Regions from separate parts of the Homo sapiens genome. Here all the other regions are linked to region 1. Evidence: promoter capture Hi-C in human tissues and cell types (Jung and others, 2019). All regions are on one chromosome and are shown on one strand. Each heading gives the region's core, a stretch centred on a gene start or on the middle of the fragment in contact. The rest is flanking DNA. Distances are from core to core; before and after follow the strand shown. Region 1 holds the start of CYP24A1 (cytochrome P450 family 24 subfamily A member 1). Region 2 overlaps LOC105372666 (a long non-coding RNA gene). Region 3 overlaps TSHZ2 (teashirt zinc finger homeobox 2). Region 4 overlaps TSHZ2 (teashirt zinc finger homeobox 2). Region 5 overlaps TSHZ2 (teashirt zinc finger homeobox 2).

Region 1 (2,618 bases), core at 66-2,565:
CAGTCATTAGCCCCTCCAGACAAATCAGAAATGATGGTGTTAAAGCTTAAGTTGGACTGCAAAAGATTTTTAAGAAACAAACTAGAGGCTTACAAAAGAATTTACCAGGGAAGGATTTGCCAACACTTGGGGCAAAAATGACTGAGACACGTAATTGAAAAGCAGGGCGAGGAAACAGAATGTCCCTCCCCTCCTCCCTGGCTGGTGGTAGTTTTGTATTGGATCAGGTTGAAAGGATTCGAGCCACTTTAAAACAATCAACAAAAATCTCCAACTTCCGTTCCTGAATTAGCAAAGCGAGTTCTACTCTTGCCAGCCGCGGTAACTCTAGAAATTGTGTATGTTTGTCACTGGACCTGCCTAGGACGCACCTTGGGGGAGAGGGGGAGTACTGGGGGCGGTGGTTTCAAGCTCTGTGTGCCCCTCCTTTGCACAAGGTAGTCGGTGTAGAAGAACAGAGGCGGGCAGTGGACATAGGGGAGGTGGCCCAGCCTGAATTCAAGCATCGTTGGTGCAAGCCACGCTCTCAAGGCGCATTTCCTAACTTCCTAAAGAAGTAACAACAGCAACTAACTTTTATTGACTGTTGACTATAGACAAGGCTTCGTTGTTGCCGCTTTACGTGCATTAATTCATTTAATCTGCAAAACAACCAAACATGAAACAGCAGGAAGGAAATTCTACAAACTCCCCTTCTTGCTCAAGTTAAGAAAGTCTCCTCTTCTGGTGCATTTCAGTAAGACTCAAATCCTCCCCACCCTGGGAGGCGCAGAAAGCCAAACTTCCTCCAAAAAAAAAAAGGCAAAAAAAAAAAAAAAATCACTTCAGTCCAGGCTGGGGGTATCTGGCTCCCCGGGAGGCGCCCGGGCTCCCCGGGGCCCTGGCAGACGCCGGCAGCTTTTCTGGGCCCGCACTCGGGGACCTCGCCCGCCCGGCATCGCGATTGTGCAAGCGCCGGGCGGCAACCACGGCCGCCGCTGCCGGCTCCTGCCCGCCGGGGGAGGGCGGGGAGGCGCGTTCGAAGCACACCCGGTGAACTCCGGGCTTCGCATGACTTCCTGGGGGTTATCTCCGGGGTGGAGTCTGCCGCCCCCACCCCACCTCCCGCGCCCAGCGAACATAGCCCCGGTCACCCCAGGCCCGGACGCCCTCGCTCACCTCGCTGACTCCATCCTCCTTCCACCCCCCCTCCCCTGGGTCCCGCGTCCCTCGGAGTCTGGCCAGCCGGGGGCCACTCCGCCCTCCTCTGCGTGCTCATTGGCCACCCAGGGCATGCTCTGTCTCCATAAATGCATGGTCCCTGGGCATAGGAACATGGAGAGGGACAGGAGGAAACGCAGCGCCAGCAGCATCTCATCTACCCTCCTTGACACCTCCCCGTGGCTCCAGCCAGACCCTAGAGGTCAGCCTTGCGGACCAACAGGAGGACTCCCAGCTTTCCCTTTTCAAGAGGTCCCCAGACACCGGCCACCCTCTTCCAGCCCCTGCGGCCAGTGCAAGGAGGCACCAATGCTCTGAGGCTGTCGCGTGGTGCAGCGTCGAGCATCCTCGCCGAGGTCCTTTCTGCTGCCTGTCCCGCCTCACCCCGCTCCATCACACCAGCTGGCCCTCTTTGCTTCCTTTTCCCAGAATCGTTAAGCCCCGACTCCCACTAGCACCTCGTACCAACCTCGCCCCACCCCATCCTCCTGCCTTCCCGCGCTCCGGTGTCCCCCGCTGCCATGAGCTCCCCCATCAGCAAGAGCCGCTCGCTTGCCGCCTTCCTGCAGCAGCTGCGCAGTCCGAGGCAGCCCCCGAGACTGGTGACATCTACGGCGTACACGTCCCCTCAGCCGCGAGAGGTGCCAGTCTGCCCGCTGACAGCTGGTGGCGAGACTCAGAACGCGGCCGCCCTGCCGGGCCCCACCAGCTGGCCACTGCTGGGCAGCCTGCTGCAGATTCTCTGGAAAGGGGGTCTCAAGAAACAGCACGACACCCTGGTAAACCCCTTTTCGCGCCCCTGACTCTCTCCTCCCTCTTCCGCCCTCCCAGTGGCGCTCCAAACCCTCCCCGACATGCGCGCCTCGGGCGCATGGTGCGCTTCGGCGTCTGGGCAGGGAGGGTCCCCGGTCCCCTAGGAGGAAGGAGGCGGGAGGAGGGAAAGCGCTTCGGGCACGGCGGAGGATGCGCGCTGACACCGCGCTGTGCCCGGCCGGCTGCAGGTGGAGTACCACAAGAAGTATGGCAAGATTTTCCGCATGAAGTTGGGTTCCTTTGAGTCGGTGCACCTGGGCTCGCCATGCCTGCTGGAAGCGCTGTACCGCACCGAGAGCGCGTACCCGCAGCGGCTGGAGATCAAACCGTGGAAGGCCTATCGCGACTACCGCAAAGAAGGCTACGGGCTGCTGATCCTGTGAGTCCAATCCGAGGGACCTGGGCATGCGGCCAGACCTGATGAGCCTGACGGCGCCTGGAAATTGTGAAGAGGCGGAGTTAGAGTTCCCTGGGGTTGGAAGCTTCTTACGTAGGGCGGATACCAAAGCCCCTCTCCCGTGCCATCGCAACCCTGAGCTCTTGTACAGATTAGAGTCGGTCCACGGAAAAGCCGTGCTGTGCACCCAGCACCTGCGTTCTCTCTG
Region 2 (2,618 bases), core at 71-2,570, 1.9 Mb after region 1:
GGAGACCCATTTTATTATAGTTCAATGAATATGACTAAACCCCAACACAGATCGAGACAACTAATGGTCAATTATTAAGTGAAAAAATAAATATTAGGTGAGAAAACAAAATATGCGTATGTCAAAGACAACCAGGGAATTTTCTTAAGCCATCACTGTAACCATGATTCTAAATCAGGGATTGCAAATGTGTAGCATGTGTGCCATCCTGCATAACTCCAAAATCCATGGCAGACATTACCAATCAACCATGCCTCTCTCTCTCTCTCTGTGTGAACTCCAGCATAACCATGCCTCTAAATCAGGGATTGCAAATATGTAGCATGTGTACTGTCCTGCGTAGCTCCCACACTCATGGCAGACATTACCAATCAATCATGACTTCCTGCCTCCCCAGTCCCTGGCACAATCCAGAAGCCCTCCAACACAGAGCTCTTGGCAGACACTACTAAGCAATTTGGATTACCATGAGATGAAACCCATTGCTTTGCCAGCTTTCCTCCAGTCAGAATTGCTTACTCCTGTTATTTTATATAACTTATTCTAGTCTTCCCTTATTCCTGCTGGCTTCCAGACTTAACGTTTATCCTGGCCTCAACATTTGAACCTAGCACTAGGCATTGCTTCCCATACAACAAGCTCTGCTAGGCACTGACCACAGCTGGGGCCTTTCACTCACCCAAACTGCCTTGGGTAAACTGGCCACTAAGTTCAACCCATGTATAGGACCCCTGCCCTTCCTTTGACACTGTTCCTAGCCCAATTAAAGAAACTCCCATTACGTGCCCATCCAAGAAGCAAGAAACAGACACTTAGGTCAGGATGGTCAAATACATATTGTATAAACGGCCTCTACCCCTTTGCAAGCCCATGGCAAACACTGCTGGTTGACTAACGTCATCTCTTACATGAATGCAGAGGCATCCTCAGAAGTTTTCTTAGCATTAAGACCCCAGACAACCATTAAAAACCAATCTAATTTGCATTTGAGACAAAATTTGCCAGTCATTCTACATAAACCAATGGAAACTCTAGTTCCAAAATCATATAGCCCAGTAGAGTGAATTAGGTTGCAAAGAACCCTCTTGATCCCTGGGAGATTCTTAGGATAAACATAGAATCCAAATGAACCACAGGAGGGTCACAGAAAAGAAGACTAAGGACCCAGCAGAGACCGCTGCCTGATGTACCAAGCACCAACACTGTGGCAGCCTGGAAATGTGGTCCTGATTCAGAGGTCCTGGGTACTGCAAACCTTCTCAAATCCACTTCCTGCTTTACACTGAGGAAATCTTACAAAAATAAAAATTACAATCTGTCACATTACATTACCTCAAAGCATGATGTAACATCATAATTTTTTAAAGCATATGTTTTAATTTATGATGTTGTGTGATGCCACAAAAAGCTTGATTTTCCCTTGAGTACCAATAAATTTTGACAGTGATGGTTTATCCCAAAACTTTGGCAGACTGAAACACAAGGAAGGTTGGCCAAAGATAGGTAGTTAGCCACCACTGAAGAAATGCTTATGAGTCAGTCACCAGGACATCAACCTGTCCTTGTCCTTCAAAAGCTCAAACTCTATAGTCCTGTGCTGTCCAATATGGTAGTCACCATGGCCAGTGAGGATCTGACAGGTGACTAGTCCAAAAATCTAGAAACACTGCAAGTACAGAATATACATCAGATTTGAAAGGCTTAGTACATAAAATATATAATATTTTGTTAATATTTTTTTTTTGAGATGGAGTCTCATTCTGTCACCCAGGATGGAGTGCAGTGGTGCAATCTTAGCTCATTGCAACCTCCCAGGTTCAAGCAACTCTGCTGCCTCAGCCTCCTGAGTAGCTGGGATTACAGGTGCACACCACCATGCACAGCTAATTGTTCTGTGTATTTTTAGTAGAGACCGAGTTTCACCATGTTGGCCAGGCTGGTCTCAAACTCCTGACCTCAGGTAACCCACCCGCCTTGGCCTTCCAAAGTGCTGGGATTACAGGCATGAGCCACCACACCCGGCCTTCAGTATTTCTTTATAGCAATGCAAGAATGGACTAATACAAGGTGGAAGATGACACTAGAAGGGGGAATGAGCATATTTTGATCTTATATGGCAGTAGTCAGCAAACTAGGACCGGTGGGCCACATCTGCCTGGTTTTATAAGTAAAGTTTTATTGGAACAGAGCCACACCCATTCGTTTATGCCTTGTTCATGGCTGCTTTCAAACAACAGGGCTGAGGTGTAGCAACAGAGATGTTGTGGTCAAGAAGTTCAGAGATTGGCAGATTAATTCCCATAGTGTCAACCAAACCAAGTCCTAAATGCCTAGCATGGTGTCCTTCATCTTAAAGACAGAAAAGTGGGAGTTTATGGGGATTTTTGGAGAGGATGGTTTTTTTTTTTTTGACAGAGTCTTGCTCTGTCGCCCAGGCTGGAGTGCAGTGGTACGATCCCATCTCACTACAACCTCCACCTTCGGGGTTCAAGTGATTCTCCTGCCTCGGCCTCCCGAGTAGCTGGGATTACAGGCATGCACCAAAATGCCCAGCTAATTTTTGTATTTTTAGTAGAGACAGGGTTTCACCATGTTGGTAGGCTGGTCTCGAACTCCTA
Region 3 (2,618 bases), core at 41-2,540, 1.1 Mb after region 1:
TCTGGAAACTCAAAATCCAGTAGAAAGGACTGATACTTAGGACATAATTTCAGCAATGTGGTAACTTCTATTTCCAAGTACAATACAGGGTATTGTGAGAAGAAAGTGAAACATTTAACTTCTTACTCAAAGGAAGAATCCTCTAACTTCACAAGGGAGTGGTCAAGGAGGGCTCCATTGAGAAGGCGACATTTGAACAGCAGTTTAAAAGATACATAAGAGTTCACCAAGGATGTCATGAAGGTGAGAGACAGTTGTATGTACATGTCTTTTACAATGCTAGAATTGCGAAGTCAGTTTTTTAGTTTCTTTTCACTGCAGCCAGACTGAAGATCCTTGAAATTTGAAATTAGAAAGTGTGGAAGCACCTCACACATCACCAGGCATCCCAAAGTATGTAGCAAAATCCTGCCCCCAAGAAATCCTGAAACAAATCTGTATAATTAATAGTGTCTACTTTTAGCTAATGTATAGTATAAGTAACAAACACTGAGGTCAGTGGAAAACTATAATTAAACATGCATGTCTCAAAGTTAAAAATGTACATCAATCAACCCAGGCCTAAAACTGAAAATAGACCAGTTTTTTTTTTTAACTTGACGGAATGGAGTTAATAAAAGATGAGAACCACTCTTTTCAACTATCAAAACAGTGTTCCTGGACTGTTGAAAAGCATCCATTAGCTCATCCCGTATCATCCCCTTCCTTTTAAAAAATAATAATTTCATTGTTAAAATGACTCATACTTACTGTATTTAAGTAATAGAGAAAATTATAAAGAAGAAAGTTTTAAAATCATTCAGTAGCCCAGCATCTAGAAATTACTCTAACCTTCAGTTAATTATATTTCAGATGTGTCTCTATCCATATGTGTAAATGGAAGAATAGAGAAATGGATGAATGGATGGATGGATGGAGGGATAGATGAATGAAGGAATGGAGGGATGGATGAATGGATTAAATGATGAATGGATGGAGGGAGGGAGGGAGGGACAGATGAAGGAATGGAGGGATGGATGAATGGATTAAGGGATGGATGGATGGATGGATGGATGAAGGGATGGATGGATGAATGGAGGGATGGATGGATGGAAGGATAGATGAAGGAAGGAATGGAGGGACAGATGAATGGATTAAGGGATAAATGGATGGAGGGAGGGATGGATGGAGGGATAGATGGATGAAGGAATGGAGGGATGGATGAATGGATTAAGGGATGGATGGAGGAATGGATGAATGGAGGGATGGATGGAAGGAGGGATAGATGAATAAAGGAATGGAGGGATGGATGAATGGATTAAGGAGGAATGGATGGAGGAAGGGATGGATGGAGGGAGGGATGGATGGAGGGAGGGATGGATGAAGGGAGGGATGGATGGAGGGATAGATGGATGAAGGAACGGAGGGATGGATGAATGGATTAAGGGATGAATGGATGGATGAAGGAATGGAGGATTGAATGAATGGATTGATGGATGGATGGGCAGAAGTATATGCCTTTATTGTTTTCAAGGCTAATGGTTGATCCCATTCTAGTGAATTTACCTGCCTCGACCCCCCAGTAAACAGTAAGGAAATGTCCAGTCTCACAGACTCTATTCCCATACTTTCTAGGTTCCAAAAATGGACTTCTCAGAGGAGTCTTGGAAAACCTTCTAGGGATGGTGTCAAAACACCCAAATGAGAAGGAGAAAATGAAGCCAAATCAGTTATTTTTAATCATATTAATTAAAATCTATAAGTAGTTTATCAATTTTATGGGCTCTTACAAATAGAATGGAAACAAGACATTATTTAGATTCACCCCTTTCATGTTGCAATGAGGAATGAGGAGACTAGGAAGGACAATTTTATTTTCCAAGCTTACAAATGAAAAGGGACAGAAGCAGGGCTGCAGAGCAGCTGTGAGCATTCAGTCAATGAATATTTTTATTATTTCTAAGAGAGAAACATAGTAGGACCCCTTTCCCCCAAGTGGTAATTGATATTGCTGGATTATTATGATTTTGTGGTATACCCTGAAGATACTCTTTGCACTTGTATTTGTATACCATGTTGCCTTAAAGAAGCCAAAAACATGGGATGCATCCCTTTAAAAAAAGTCCTTAATGTCATAGAAACAAAAGAATTTCCCAAACTACTTCTGCTCCAACCCAGCTTAGCATCCCCGATGCTTTTCTGTTTGGATTTGTTGGTTAGGAAAACAAACCCCAGCTACTACAGCATAGCACAGAATATTCCACCGGGGTTCCCCAGCCTCCGCGCGACTGACATTTGGGGCCAGGTGATTCTCTGCTGTGGGGCTGCCCTGTGCATTACGGGATGTTTAGCAGCATCTCTGGTCTCTACCCCACAAGCTGACAGTAAAAGCTCCCATCTGTTTTGACAACCAAAAATGACTCTGCAAATTGCAAAATGCCGGCCTGGGTTGGGGAGCTGGGGCAGTACAGGATCATTCCTGGTTGAGACAACGACAATCCAAAGCCCTCAGTGTCTCCAATAAAACAAGCAAAAGAGATTTTTATAGACAGATACACACAGTACTACTCTCCAGGGGTATTCAGGGGACATGACTTCACGGACGTCCCTGGATGCAGGGGAGAGGAAAAAGATCTTGG
Region 4 (2,618 bases), core at 54-2,553, 1.1 Mb after region 1:
CTCAAAGCACACCTGGGCTTGTGGGCTCGGAGACCCTTGCAAGCAAGCTGCTGTCAGCTGCTCCATTTTGGCAGACGGGGAAATGGTGCACCTCAGTCTTACAGAGGTGCACTCCATTCCAAACCCAGCCAAAGTTCATGTCTGAATTCTGCTGCTTAAAATCTTTCAATTGGAAGGAACTCCTCACTCTGTCTCATGGCTTTCAAATTCCAGCAAACCTATTCCCCCATGGCTTCATGCCCTGACTCTCTCCACCCTATTCTCAACCCCAGTCAGAATGGTCTCCTTCGTATTTGTGACAGTTAATATTGAGTGTCGATTTGATTGAATTGAAGGACGCCAAGTATTGTTTCTGGGGGTGTCTGTGAGGGTGTTGACAAAGGAGATTAACATTGGAGTCAGTGGTGTGGGAGAGGCAGACCCACCCTCAGTCTGGGTGGGCACCATCTAGTCAGCTGCCAGCACAGCTACAATAAAGCAGGCAGGAGAAGATGGAAAGAGCAGATTTGCTGAGTCCTCTGGCCTTCATCTTTCTCCTGTGCTGGATGCTTCCTGCTCTCAAACATCAGACTCCAAGTTCTTCAGCTTTTGGACTCTTAGACTTACAACACTTGTTTGCCAGGGGCTCTTGGGCCTTCGGCCACAAACTGAAGACTGCACTGTCAGCTTCCCTACTTTTGAGGTTTAGGGATTTGGACTGATTTCTTTGCTCCTCAGCTTGCAGATGGCCTATTGTGGGACTTCACCTTGCAATTGTGAGTCAATTCTCCTAATAAACTCCTCTTGATATATACATCTATCCTATTAGTTCTGTCCCTCTGGAGAACCCTGATTAACACAGGATTCTTGGGCGCTCCCCAGGCCTTCCTCAGTAGGGTCTGGGCACTTGCTATTTCCTTTGACTGAAAGGTTCTTTTCTTGTTCTTCATGTAGACAGTTTATTCTCACCCTTTGAGACTTATCTAAAATGTCACCCTATCAGGGAGTTCTCTTATAGCCACGTATCTTATGATCTAGCTTTTTAATCTTCATAGCTATTATTACTGTGTGAAAAATCATATTTATGTGATTAAATGGTTAATGTCAGTCCCTCCAAAGGGGCTGTGATTTTTCTCAAGGGCAAATCTTTTCTCAGTCACTATGTTATCCCAAATGCCAAGTACAGTGCCTGGCATGTAATAGATACTTCATAAAGTTTTTGTTGAATAAATAAATGGACTTACGAAGACCAGCTTTCCAAATCTTGGAAAAATCCCTACTTATCTCTTTCTATTACGGTGCAAAATGTACATTCCCTTTACAACTTCTTTGCCAGCCTGGAAGTTGGAAAAACTCTGTTTAATAAAAAAAAAAAAAAAAAAAAAGAAAATCCCATTCCTGTACCTGTCACTGCTGGGTTAAACAAGTTCACTTAAGATTTTTTTCTCTGTGTGGGCTTTCCTCAGGCCCTATAGATGTGCCACGTATGTTTTATGAGCTAACATTTATTTTCGACACTTTGGCCTATTGGACATGATCTCGTAAGCCTGAACTCTCAGCTGACATGCTGTTGAACATAATGGGGAGATTTAAAAAGGTATCACCAAGGAGTAGAGAGGATTGCGGAGCGCCAGGGGCGAGGAGGAGGTGGTTGAGATGAGCCACGGAAAGCTTTCACACTGTTCTCCCTGGCAGTCAAGGAGCCGTTGCTATGATGTGCAGTCTCAGCACGTGCATCCTGAGCCAGCCGAAGAATGCAGAACAACCTAATTGCTATCCTTGGAACTCAGTGCTCCCAATAAACTTGAAAGCTGAATAGCAACATTTCACAAACAGAGCTGCAGCCTCCTAGCTAGGTGAGCGGCAGTGGAGTCTCTGCATTGCTGTGTGGTACTCTGGATGGAATCCACAGGTCTCGGAAATGCCAAAGCACTCTCTTTCTCAGACAGAGTGAGCCTTCAATTAATTACAAAAACTAGACATTGAAAATATGCCATATGTCAATCCATAGTGGAATTCATATGGGGGAAAGGGAAGTTTTAAAGGTTTCTGAAAGCCATCAAATCTCCATTTAGATAGAATTCTTCAAAAAAATATGAATTTAGTTATTCATTTGCACGGGGTAAATTTTTCAATTTAGCGGAACAAAGGCAACTACAACTTGGCATTTAAAAACTTGGGAGAGTTGACAACAGCAGGACGGAGGGCCAACGCTGAGATCCTCAATTCCATTCAAATCACATAATCAGTTAATGCCAATTTGTTGCTAGTGCTTTAAAGTCAGAAACAAACAGGGCCCTTAAAGGATTTCCCTCCATAGTACCCAACAAAATTACTCATTGCAATTTCCTGTATGATAATTTTTTAAAATGTCTGTCTAACTCCAGTAGACTATAAATTCCATGAGAGCAGAATTGTGTACATTCTGTTCACTTTTGAGTTCCCAGAGTTGAATCCAGTGCTTCATATATAGTAAGTTCCCAACAAAAACTTACTAAATGAATCAAATTAAGCCCCAGTGCTGGACCTCAAGAAGCTCTCTGTTCAGTAGGAAACAGGTAAGAAAACAAAAGGATTTCAGCAATAGGTGATGAGTCCCAGAGCAGAACTATGCCCAGGATACTTATGGGACAACAGAG
Region 5 (2,618 bases), core at 43-2,542, 1.0 Mb after region 1:
AGTTATTGAATTGGAAATAAACTGGTTAAAAGTAAGTAGATGTTATATTTATAACTGACGAAGGTCATTTTAAACCTGCTTCCAACTCTGAAATTAACTTTCTTATTTTCTCCCCCTCCCCCGCTTTGTAAAGAAAACAATCAGCAGATGTCTCTGCAGTTAATAGTTAGAATGTGCAAGGTAACAGCATTAGAAAGCTACATCTCTGCCTCTATACCCACTTTTCCTGGAGCATAGCCCCTCCTTTCCCATGCAACACCCCCACTAATGAATTCCCAGAGTACCCTGTATTTTAACATCTACAAGGACAAGGAAGGCAGGATTGATGGCCCTGCAGTCACGTCCTGGGCTGACACTGGCAGTGGAAGGTAACTCATGCTTAGCACTTGACGTAATTTTTTGATGACTGAAACCTGATCCCATCGACCGATCCCCTAGTGGCTGATCTCATCTCTTTACCATCAGAGAAACTGAAGTCGAGTTACCAGGAAAGATACAAAAGAGGAAGCGAGTGGGCAACGTCTCAGCATAGAAAGGAGTAAGCTTGTGTTTGATCTTTTGTCCAAAGAACATTCCTAATTCTCACAAATGGGATGGCCGAACCCAAAACATTGCGGCAGCCAGTCCTTCCCTCCCCGCCCCATCCCTGGCCGGGCCAAATTCTTCTGAGCTGGGTGTCCGTGAAGTTCTTTAGAGGAAACTACAAGTTTGTTATTTTTTTCCTTCAGTTGTGATTTTGAGGCGAGTCTCTTTTATTTATAAAATTGAGAAGAAAAGAATAATGCAATCCACAAAACACTCTTGGAAGGGTTAGAAAAATAAACATCATAAACAATGGCAATAAAAATGAGCCTTTAATGAGTATTTTGAGCCAGGAACTGGAGGCAGATGACAAGGGTTGAGGTTCAGATTTGCCATATAGTCACTATGTGACTCCAAACAAGTTGCTTTTCCTCCCTAAGCCTCACTTTACTAATCTGAGAAGTGATAATAATTGTACCCATTCATTGGTGAAGATTAAAGGAAAAGGACCTAAGGTGGATATACAGTGCCTGAGATATAGTAATTGTTTATAGAAGTGTGATATTTCTCTACTCTAACTCAAATAATATCACTCATTTACTTAAAACCCTATGATATGGTTTGGTTCTGTGGCCCCACCCAAATATCACCTGGAATTATAATCTCCACGTGTTGAGGCAGGTACCTGGTGGGAGGTGATGGTATCATGCGGGCGGATTCCTTCATGCTGTTCTCATGATAGTGAGTTGAGTTCTCACAACATCTGATGGGTTTATAAGTGTTTGGCAGTTCCTCTTTCGCTTGTACTCTCTTTTCCTGCTGCCTTATGAAGAAGTTACTTGATTCTCCTTTGCCTTCTGCCATGACTGTAAGTTTCCTGAGGCCTACCCAGCCATGCAGAACTGTGAGTCAATTACATCTCTTTCCTTTATAAATTACCCAGTCTCAGGTAGTATTTTTATAGAACTGTGAAAACGGACTACTACACATGTAAGGCTTTCTATCACAGAGAATGAAATTAAAACTCCTTACCATGAGCTACAAAGCCCTGTCTCATCAGTCTGAGTGCTCCCCGTCATGTTCACCCTCCTCCCACCCATGGGTCTTTCCTCCAACCCTGTGGCACACCTCTTTTGCTCTCACCTCAGGATCTTTGCACTGCCTAGAACACTCATTCCGCAGACATTCATTTGGCTGGGTTTTTCCTCAATAATGAGCTCTCAAGTCAAATACCACTCCATCAGATAGCCTTGCATTACCTCCTATTTTTTTTTTTTTTTTTTTTTTTGCTGAAAATAACCAGAGTTGGTTTCTGTCATGTACAATCAAAGGAGTCTAATGGAACCAAGTAGCAATGTTCTCGAAAACAAACAAACAAAAAACCCCAAACATTTTGCTGTTTCTTTCCCCTCTGTATTTGCTAACTTTATCATGACTTTATTCTTAAAGCCTATCACTGGTCTGCTTTTATTAATAGATTAGTGGAAATTTTCACCTGGCCTATTAGCACCTTATAAAGAAATAGATTAAGAGTAGGGAATATATAGATGAAGATGTACATTCAAAGAAGATGGGCCTATGGTGAGCAAAAGAAAAATGTTTCCAGAGGTGTAGTTTGCCACATGGTTCATCTAGAAAGGGCAAACTGAAATGTCTTTTTTTTTTTTTTTTTTGGAGACAGAGTCTTGCCCTGTCACCCAGGCTGCAGTGCAGTGGCACAATCTCAGCTCACTGCAACCTCCACCTCCCGGGTTTAAGAGATTCTCATGCCTTAGGTGTGCACCACCATGCCAAGTTAATTTTTGTATTTTTAGTAGGGACAGGGTTTTGTCATGTTGGTCAGGCTGGTCTTGAACTCCTGGTCTCAAGTGATCTGTCTACCTCAGCCTCCCAAAGTGCTGGAATTACAGGCATGAGCCACTGCCCCCGGCCCTGAAAATGTCTGTCTTATTACTGCACTTGTGCATGCTTTACTTGGCTCCAGCAATACTGTAAATGCCTGAACTGAACAACAGATGATTATGGAACACAGAGAAGAGATACTTTGCACGACTAGGGATTAGACTCGGCATAGCCATAAGGGATTTGATGTGGAC

Evidence for each region. The method cuts DNA at HindIII sites, captures the fragments that hold promoters and counts their contacts. A contact is called where the count stands out against the background at its distance.
Region 2: a contact is called between a fragment that was not itself captured here and the fragment with the promoter of CYP24A1 in region 1, in 1 of the 25 tissues and cell types used here (spleen).
Region 3: a contact is called between a fragment that was not itself captured here and the fragment with the promoter of CYP24A1 in region 1, in 1 of the 25 tissues and cell types used here (small bowel).
Region 4: a fragment that was not itself captured here is called in contact with the fragment with the promoter of CYP24A1 in region 1 in 1 of the 25 tissues and cell types used here (spleen).
Region 5: a contact is called between a fragment that was not itself captured here and the fragment with the promoter of CYP24A1 in region 1, in 1 of the 25 tissues and cell types used here (spleen).

The regions. Positions count from the first base shown.
Region 1 is chr20:54,172,683-54,175,300 of GRCh38, reverse strand. CYP24A1 (cytochrome P450 family 24 subfamily A member 1) reads left to right here and starts at 1,315. Exons shown (of 12, transcript NM_000782.5): 1 at 1,315-1,979; 2 at 2,202-2,392. The coding sequence starts at 1,722. RefSeq lists an enhancer at 1,092-1,685. The HindIII fragment of the contact is 4,712 bases long and covers 1-2,618 here.
Region 2 is chr20:52,319,979-52,322,596 of GRCh38, reverse strand. The region is part of intron 3 of LOC105372666 (a long non-coding RNA gene); the gene reads right to left. Among named protein-coding and RNA genes, the nearest start is that of ZFP64, 130 kb to the right of the region's middle. The HindIII fragment of the contact is 6,006 bases long and covers 1-2,618 here.
Region 3 is chr20:53,071,734-53,074,351 of GRCh38, reverse strand. All of the region lies in intron 1 of TSHZ2 (teashirt zinc finger homeobox 2), which reads right to left. Among named protein-coding and RNA genes, the nearest start is that of TSHZ2, 100 kb to the right of the region's middle. The HindIII fragment of the contact is 3,396 bases long and covers 1-2,618 here.
Region 4 is chr20:53,088,067-53,090,684 of GRCh38, reverse strand. All of the region lies in intron 1 of TSHZ2 (teashirt zinc finger homeobox 2), which reads right to left. Among named protein-coding and RNA genes, the nearest start is that of TSHZ2, 120 kb to the right of the region's middle. RefSeq lists a silencer at 1,743-1,969. The HindIII fragment of the contact is 4,369 bases long and covers 1-2,618 here.
Region 5 is chr20:53,160,323-53,162,940 of GRCh38, reverse strand. All of the region lies in intron 1 of TSHZ2 (teashirt zinc finger homeobox 2), which reads right to left. Among named protein-coding and RNA genes, the nearest start is that of TSHZ2, 190 kb to the right of the region's middle. The HindIII fragment of the contact is 3,854 bases long and covers 1-2,618 here.